Regions from separate parts of the Homo sapiens genome. Here region 2 is linked to region 1. Evidence: promoter capture Hi-C in human tissues and cell types (Jung and others, 2019). All regions are on one chromosome and are shown on one strand. The core of a region is centred on a gene start or on the middle of the fragment in contact, and the rest is flanking DNA. Distances in the headings are between cores, read along the strand shown.

Region 1 (4,493 bases), core at 1,994-4,493:
CAAACCTTTTCCCTTCATGATAACATCCATAGACAACTTATTAGAAGGGACTAGAGTTTTTGCAAATTTCCCTGCTGGATGGGGCCTATAGCTATACTTAGTATATGCCTAAACATGGTAATTGGATAGTAAATGGTTTTCTAGTTCCATTGCTGTATATTTGCCTAAATGGACTTGTGTTCAAATTATTTCTTCAATTGTCATAGATAATCCTGTACCAAATGGGGAAGAATTAGGAAATAATCATGTTGTCTAATGGTACTCTGGATTCAGGGCAGCAACTGCCATTTAAATGTTGTCTTGTTCATTTCTAAATCTGTTCATGAAGTTTAGGTTTTCCCTGAAACTAAGTTGAATTATTTCCAAAATGAAACAGGCTTCTCAGGGACATATCCACTTCTTCCCAGTCTGCCTTTGGATTAAAGCACCAAGCAGAGACCACATTAATTCCCTTTGCTATACTGTGATCCTTAGTATGTTAATTCTTAAGAAACCAACATATCACTGAAAGAAGGCTGGCAGAACGCAAGTGCATTTTTTCACTGTGGGAAGAAAGATCAAGTGACGTATTATTTTTTCCTGGTTGTCACTTAATGGGCTGAGTAAAAAGCTTGAAAACTCAGACTTTCGGTCTTGGTTCTGCCACTCATTGGTTATGAGGAGGCCCAGAGCAGGTAAGTTCACCTTCCTGGCCTTACTTTCCTGATGTGTAATACGGAATTACTTCACAGTAGCATGACAGTATAAGACACCAGCAGTAGATACAACTATGATGACATTCCATGAGTTGGTATTTTTAGTTCTAACTGCTAAATTTGTTCTCTTTACGGGACAGATTTCTAATAAAGTGCTTGGTCTTAAAATACATGGTTGGACAGAGGTGCCCTATCCCTTAACTATGAGCAGGTGCTACCTTTTGGGATATTTATTTTAAATTTTAATACTTTGGTACTCAATTGTCAGTGTTCCATGGTGTGTATTTTTATTTTTGGGATTAGTGGGGGTCTAAAGGGAGAAGAATAGTCTCTAATTACTACCTCTTAACCTAAAGCAATTATTTTGTTCCTGGAGCAAGTTAAATCTTTGTTGGAAGGAGCTTTGGCCATATATTTTTTAGCATGCATTGTTTCTGTGCCCTGAAAGTACCTGAAAGGTTTTAAGCACAGACTCAGGAAAATGTGCCAGTAGAACAGGCCATCTCCAGGAAATTGGCTCTATTTGGGTCCTGACCTTCCCTTCCTCCCAAGTTAGCAGGCTTGTTCTTTCGCAAGGAATACACATCTTGCCTTTTTTTTTTTTTTTTTGCCATGTTTTCCTTTTCTTGGTCATGTATAAGCAATAAAGCTGTTTTTTGTTCTTCATCTTTCTTAACCCCAAATTTTCTTCTATGCCTTAGGCTTCGATGGTTCTTCCAACCCCCTTAATATGGCTTAGGGTGGTTTTTCAAAACCTACAATCCCCCATTTGCACTACTGGCCATGGAACATTTATTTCTAGTGTTCCTGCCAATCAGAGATCTCTATATTAAATTCTAAAATGGGATTAAAAGAAGAGTTGGAGAATTCACACTTATTGAGTAACTGATGTCATACAACCTGGAATTTCTGAATTCCAAATAAATAAATTTCACTCTTTGAACATTTCATCTTTTACTTTTTAGCACCAACAGACTTGATAACAGCCTGATGCTGATCTGACAATGGGTTGATAGCCTTCCCCCACTGACCCTTAAATCTGCTTAGTAACAAGTCCTTTGCTTCTGTCATTCTCCTGGGGGATGGCCTACTGCCCTCCTTTCTGTACAATCTGGGCAAACCGACTGGTGATGGCAAGAGTGGTGTCAATGAAGCGGTCTACACAGCTGGAGAGACAATTTTCAGTGCGAGAGTCTAGGCGATTCCCTGGCTTCTCCACACATTTATCCCAACATAACTCCATGAAGTGATGCACCTAAAAGGAAAGAAAAATAGTAACCATTGGGGTCTGCAGATAGGCCTAACTCTTGTTTATTAACTTCTCACTTTTTGACACCTGACAAAACCATTCTTTAAATCAACCACGGAGTCACTTTGGGCTCTTCTCTTTCTTCATTTCCTAATTAGTCACCAATATTGATCCAGATCCTCGTCCCTACAGATTGTACATTCTCAGGTAGGACTAATAACCTTTTATATTCCCCAAAGTAGCTAGCACCATTGTGAACCAACTAGGGAACCAATTAATTTTCCCAAACTATTGCACTCATTTTATTCCAAACCTATCCCCTAGACAAGGTAATTCTTCCATTAACCTTTTGGGGGTTATGGATCCACTCCCCAGAAAAATGCACATACAGGCACAGAAATTATGTGCACTGTCATTAGAATGTTCAGGGCCCAAAGATTTCTAGCCAGGGTTCTTGCTGGTCATCCGAGCACCCTCTTCCTCCCACCCAAAAGGAAAAAACCATTTTACCAAGAGCTTACTATTTGTGAGGCTGGGTACTAAGAAATCAGTTCTCTCTAAGGTCCTCAAGGATAGCTGTCATCACCTCCCATTTAAGAGGCGTGATTATGTAGTCCAAGGTCATGTAGCCAGCAAGAAGTCAGGCCGCGTTAGAACCATGTCCGAAGGGCTCCAAACCCTTGTTCTACATCCATAGTCTACAGCGACTACTTCAGAGTCCACCTTCCTCCGATAATGTTCTAGTCGTTTTCAAATACATTGTCGCATATGATCCTCACAATCCAGTGAGGCAGTGGGGTGACGGCGACACCAAAACCCACAGTGGATGAGTATCTTTTCTACGGGCACGTGGCCTGCAAGGAGCAGAGGGAGGATGAGAACCCAGATCTTTCGAATGCCAGCCCAGTCATGTCGCCGGCTAACTAGTCTCCCGTACCCTTGCGTCGCCCAAATCTTCCCTGTTTTACACCTTTTCTTTTCTCCACGCTACGCTTATATACCTGGCACCTGAGCACTACCGGTCACCAGGGACAGGAGAGCCATAACTTTGTCTTTCGTGAGGGGAATGGGATGCAGCCGGGATCGAGCACCAGTGAGCCGCCAGTGTACAGACCTCCGAGCGTGCCCAGGACCACCAAGGAAGGTGAAACTTCCTTTCCCTTCACCCTCCCCGTCCCCGCACCTGTGCAGTAAACTGCGCCTTCTGCTGCTCGGCGGCCACCAGGCGCTGCAACTCCGCTTCATCGGCTTCGCCCAGCTCCGCCATTGTTCGCCTCAGGCTCGCCACCTTCCGACAGCTGTGTTTGCGCATGCGCGACGGGTGTGCACCGCCTCTCGACTTCCGGTTCACCCAGCATTTCCTCTTCCCTGTTTTCTTTCGTCGTCGTGGGTGGGAATTGTCGCCTAAGTGGTTCCGGGTTGGTGGATGACCTTGAGCCCTCAGGAACGAGATGGCGGTTCTCTGGAGGCTGAGTGCCGTTTGCGGTGCCCTAGGAGGCCGAGGTGAGGGGTCTTCCCACCCTGAGGTGCTTAGCGTAGCCTCCAGCCAGGGAAGGGGATGGAAGTGAGGACTCATCTGCCGGGTGGGAGATCTCTTGAGGAGAAGAAAATACCGAAATCACAGCAATGACCACTGTAGTCTAGGGGTCCAGATGTTTACCCGAAGGTATATTTCACTTGCTGTGAGCTGACGAGTTGAGGGAATAATCAGAAAGAGAGCTCCCTCTGGAAGTCGCAGTCCTGATGAGGCTAATCCACATAGCAGTTCTGTTTTCTCCCCGTTCACTGTCCCTAGAATGCTCCCCACTCGCTCCCACCCTGAGTCGGGAAAGAGGGTTAGGAGCTTGCCCATTTCTTCTGGAGTTGGTGTGTTTGGATGTGGGAGTGGAGGGGGGATCAGTTCGAAAATCATTTAACCTGGGCATTTGTGTTACCTCAGGTACTGTAGTAATGCTAGGATACAAATGTGAAGAAAACGTAGTTCCCGCCCTCAACGAGCTTTCATTCTGATGAGGAAAACACTGTCATAGTAGTCCGGGCAAGATGAGGTCCTGAACTAGGAAAGTAGCACAAAGAAAAGAAGATTGTCTCAAGAACTGTTAAAGAGATACGCCAATAGGATTTGGCGATTGAATTTAGGGGAAAAGTCTCTCATGATTTCCAGATTACTGAGTTAGGTTAAAGAATGCCTGAGGTGTCATTAAATAAAGTAGGGAACATGCAGATGTTCCCTGGTCTTAACTTCACAGTAACCCCAGTGAAATAGATGCTATCTTCATTTTACAAATAAGATGTTATCCCCTATTTATTGTTAAGTAGCTTACCTATGGTCATTTAGAAAGTTTGTCAGTCCTGTTAAAGGAGAGGTTCTTATGATCATCCTAATGACTCTTTCCTCAGCTCTGTTGCTTCGAACTCCAGTGGTCAGACCTGCTCATATCTCAGCATTTCTTCAGGACCGACCTATCCCAGAATGGTGTGGAGTGCAGCACATACACTTGTCACCGAGCCACCATTGTATGTTCTCTCCATCGCTGCTGCTTTCTGGG
Region 2 (4,625 bases), core at 1,021-3,520, 510 kb before region 1:
TGTAATGCCAGTCAAGACTCGCTCTCCCAGAAACTCAGCATGCATTTTCCCATTGCTGTCTCCGCTTGTCCTCTTTCTTCAGCCTGGAGTGTCCTTTCCTCACTTCTTTATGTGACACATCCTACCCATCTGTGAAGACTCAATTAAGTGCCACATCCTCCTTAAAGCCTCTTTCCTCTTCCAAAGTCCTTTAGATCTTGGCCTGTTCCTGCCTTTCTCGTGGTTCTCAGTATGTTTTGTTTATAGGAAGGGTATGAAACAACAGCAGAAAATACCCTAGGACCTAGAAATAAAGGGGCCATATGAGAATTTAACCATGGAAATCCATTTGTACATGGACAATGACTTGCAACTGAAAAAGTGTCTCCAAGACATCTGAGCATGACCCGCAGGTGAAGCCTGGCTTAGGTCTGTAGTTGCTGCAGAGTAAATGGTATTCATGTGTCTATTCAGTGAATCAACAAATACGTACTGAGCACCTGCTAAATGACAGTTACTGTGCTTGACAGTGGGTATGTGCAATGGTGAATAAGATACAGCTTCTACCCTCATGGCAGTTATATAGTAAAAACCCAGATTAACATCAATGACTTACATGATGATAGGGCTGTGATAGGGATATGGGCGAGCCCAGGATGCAGATACTTCCTGGAGGAGGGGATGCCCAAAGTGAGAATGTGGCACCTAAGCAGAATTTCAAACAGTTCAGCATGATTGAGCTGGGAGTGTTGGGTGGGTGAGTGGCAAAGGGTGAGGGGGAACAAGACGGAAGGGGCTACAAGGAGCTTGATAGTAAATGATTCATAAGCCTTGCTGAGGAATTTGGACTTCAGCCCAGGCTGATTATTCGTTATTTACCGTCTCTCACCAAATCCCTGCCCACATCCATTTTCTATCCTACTCTGACCTGCTCTGTGCCCTAGCAGGATGACCCCTGCAGACTGCACCACCCAGCTCCCTTGCCAGATGGTTTCCTGTACGATTTGGGCAAGAGAGGCTCCAGCAGGTCCGCTGTGGGCAGGAGGAGTGAAAGAAAGGTTATGGTATTGCTTCTGCTTTCCTTTCATATCAATAGCAGTAGTTGCACCCTCTGCAGTTCAGTCTCCACCAGTTGGCCCTTTCTCTAGCTCTCACTATAATCCAGTAACTCTACTTTTTCTTCTTGTCCCCTTCTAGGGTGGTAACAGCTTCCTACTGCTGCTAACAAACTCATCCATAGTTTGCTTCCTTAACCCTATCCATATATCTGCAAGTGGTACTTTCATTAAAGTCTCTTCTCTTCCTCTGAACCATCCGAAATGAATTCCGTTTTCTGACAAGACCCTAACTGATACAATCCTGAAAGTTATAAGGAGACATTCAAGTGTAGGGAGTCACAAAAAAACAAAAAATATGGCAATCAATGTGTACCTCCAACACTACTTAAGGGACAAGGCCCTCAAATTTTAGCCAATCTATTCCCAATGGTAGCGCCCTGTGTATTGCAGAGATGCATGCATCAGCAATCACAGACCAGGAACCTCTGAATCATGCAACTAGCCCCCAATTCTGATGCAAGATTGCAAAGGCAATGTTATAAACATAAATAAGCTTCTTGCATAGATCTAACAATACAAAAGGAAATAGGACATAGGTGCTTTGGTCTGCATGATACTTATTTCATTATAGACACCACTATGAGCCCAGGCGCAGTGACTCACGTCTGTAATCCCAGCACTTTTGGAGGCCAAGGCGGGTGGATCACCTGAGGTCAGGAGTTAGAGACCAGCCTGGCCAACATGGTGAAACCTGTCTCTACTAAAATACAAAAATTAGCTGGGCTTGGTGGTGGGTGCCTCCAATCCCAGCTACTTGGGAGGCTGAGGCAGAAGAATCACTTGAACCAGGGAGGCGGAGGTTGTAGTGAGCTGAGATTGCACTGCTACACTCCAGCCTGGGCCACAAGAGCAAAACTCCCATCTCAAAAACAAAACCAAACAAAAAAAAAACCCCACTATTATGAGTTTGGTTCCTATAACTCTATCTCCAAAGTCCAGTCCATTCTAAGACTCTGCAAAGAAACTGGATCTTCAAATAAACTGGATACAGGCTATTTTCCATCCCAGGACCCCTATGTGTATCTGCTGCTCCCTTTCTTACAGTATACCTTCTGCCCCATTCTGCTTTGTCTGAACTCTAATTTGTCTTTTACAGCTTGGCTTCAGGGTTATTTTCTCCATTAGCCCTTCTCTAACCCCTGTATTTATCTGTCTTAATTTCAAGGAGCAACATGAAGTCAGGAACTTTGTTCACCTCTGCACCCCCAGCACCTAATTCAATGCCTGGCCCACAATTTGTCTTCCTTATTGGGTTGAAAGTAAATTGAAATCACCATATTTGCCTGATTCATTTTTGTATCTTTCCAGAATGCCTAGAATAGTGCCTTGCACACAACAGGAGATCAATAAATATTTGTTAAATATATAAATGACAAAAATGTAACAAGTGTGTTCTTTCTTCCTATACTTCAAGGGAACATACAGTAAAGAATCATGATACCAGAGTTAAACAAATCCACGGGAACCTCCCAGGAAACCAAAACGTGCAAATGTGCCAGGAGGTTTTACAGATTAAGTCCATATGGGATTTTAAAAAAAAACAGAAGTGCTGTAGGACTTTATTGTGAATTGGATCTGCCAATATCAGTGCTGAAGAAGCCAACCCTGAAGCCAAATACCAGCATTTGTTTCCCAAACACTGATTAAAACAAATATTTTTCAGTTGCCATAGCTTTTGGATCTATTTTTGACATGCACGCTGAATGCAGCAAATAACATGGAAACTCTGGCTCCCTTCATTGCTGCTTAACATTGAGGACTCTAACCTCACTAGTGAGGTCAGAAAACACCAGCTACACAACCACACAAGATACCTTTCCTTGCTCCTAGGCTGCCAACTGCAGTACTATCTTTGGGATGGTTCGTCATGTCTACTAGCTGCACGTGCTTTAAAACTGAATACAGCCTCAATACAGCCTTTAAGTTTGGAAACTAGTTAAAATTAGACTAAGTCTTGTGTCTTTATAGGAAAGCACTGACAATATCTCTTTGATACATAGCATAGCCCTGATATACAATTTTAATTTTTTATTGTGGAAATTTAAGAACATATACAAAATTATAGAGAAGATTAAAAGGATCTGAAGTACCGTTCACCCAGCTTTGACAACTATCAATTGTGAAAGGAGAACTCAGACACAAAACTATTAAGAAAATAATTTTTACTTTCACTATTCTGTAAGGCAGATCATACTTCAGAACAACTGGGCTATCTAAACAAAGAACACAGCAGGCTTTTAGAGAAAAACACAAGAGGTTACCAAGTGTACAGTTAGTCTGTTCCTCACATGACTACACTATCTGCAAAGGTTATCACCTATATGTTGATATTAATATTGCAAAATCAGGAATTAATTTTTTTTTTATTTTTTTTTTGAGACAGAGTCGCTCTGTCGCCCAGGCTGGAGTGCAGTGGTGCAGTCTCGGCTCACTGCAACCTCTGCTTCCTGGGTTCACGCCATTCAATCAGGAATTAAATTGTTTGCATTAGGGTAGCAGATTACAAAAAGGGCATGGTCTTCATTTAGAGAAAAGTGTTAGGGTGTTTCTGCCTGTTTTAGTATTTTTAAGAAAGTCAAGTGTTTGGGGTTTTGCGGGGGCAGGGATGGGTTTTTTGTTTTGTGTGTGACTGCTATATAATGTGCTAAGTGAAGACAGCAGCAAGGCAAGATATCATTCATGCTTCCTTAGCCCCTCCTTCTGGCCAGGGGCTGCCAGAAGTGTAGATAATTTGACTACACGGGTTTGTTCAGAAATGTTCTGATCCATATTATTAACTTGATGGGTTTTTCTCTTTGACCAATTAAATTTATATAGTTGCTACAAAAGGTGTGGATTAACACTAGGAGATTTCTTTGCTGTATGGTTTTAAAAATTAAAGCCTTAAAATACGAAGGATTGGAGAATTAAATTCTGTCTAGAGGCTTCACAAAGCCCCTAGTCAGATTTTGATCACATCAGTTTCGCAGATGATTTTGAATTGCTGTTCTCAATCAGCTTGTCCTTTCTAGGTCTAGGAGAAAAAAGGCATCCAGTTTGCCCGGACCACGCTTTTCCTCAAGAACTACATAACTAGGACGTCCTTCCTTCTCTGAGGTCCCCAAGTCTGTCAATGTTCCTGCTATGTCAGCAAGTGGCATTCGTTACTAACTGTAAGGCTGAGATTTCACTAGCCAGAGAGCAGGTACAAGGTAAGTTTCCTGGGAGGATGTTGTGGGCATCATTTCCACATATCAAGTACAGTCCCTGTGTCTTATTTTTGGGGGGGGGGGGGGTGAGGGGGGATGGAGTTTTGCTCTTGAGGCTGGAGTGCAATGGTGCAATTTTGGCTCACTGCAACCTCTACCTCCTGGGTTCAAGCCATTCTCCTGCCTCAGCCTCTCAAAGTGCTGAGATTACATGCGTGAGCCACCGCGCCCGGCCCAGTCCCTGTTTCTTAAAGTCAGCTTGTCGTGCCTCATTAAGTCAGACTTGTTTTAAAATGTGACATTTCTTGCATGGTAACGTGACAAATTTTCTTTATCTAAC

The links. Contacts are between HindIII fragments. The study calls those that stand out against the background at their distance.
Region 2: a fragment that was not itself captured here is called in contact with the fragment with the promoter of TIMM8B in region 1 in 1 of the 25 tissues and cell types used here (aorta).

The regions. Positions count from the first base shown.
Region 1 is chr11:112,083,513-112,088,005 of GRCh38, forward strand. TIMM8B (translocase of inner mitochondrial membrane 8 homolog B) reads right to left here and starts at 3,244. Exons shown (of 2, transcript NM_012459.4): 1 at 3,128-3,244; 2 at 1,288-1,950. The coding sequence starts at 3,211. The coding sequence ends at 1,783. It overlaps SDHD (succinate dehydrogenase complex subunit D), which reads left to right and starts at 3,361. Exons shown (of 4, transcript NM_003002.4): 1 at 3,361-3,447; 2 at 4,345-4,461. The coding sequence starts at 3,396. NKAPD1 (NKAP domain containing 1) reads left to right here. Exons shown (of 6, transcript NM_018195.4): 6 at 1-1,638. RefSeq lists enhancers at 2,799-3,998, 3,362-3,631, 4,325-4,493. The HindIII fragment of the contact is 14,912 bases long and covers 116-4,493 here.
Region 2 is chr11:111,571,271-111,575,895 of GRCh38, forward strand. No RefSeq gene overlaps it. Among named protein-coding and RNA genes, the nearest start is that of SIK2, 29 kb to the right of the region's middle. The HindIII fragment of the contact is 7,597 bases long and covers 1-4,625 here.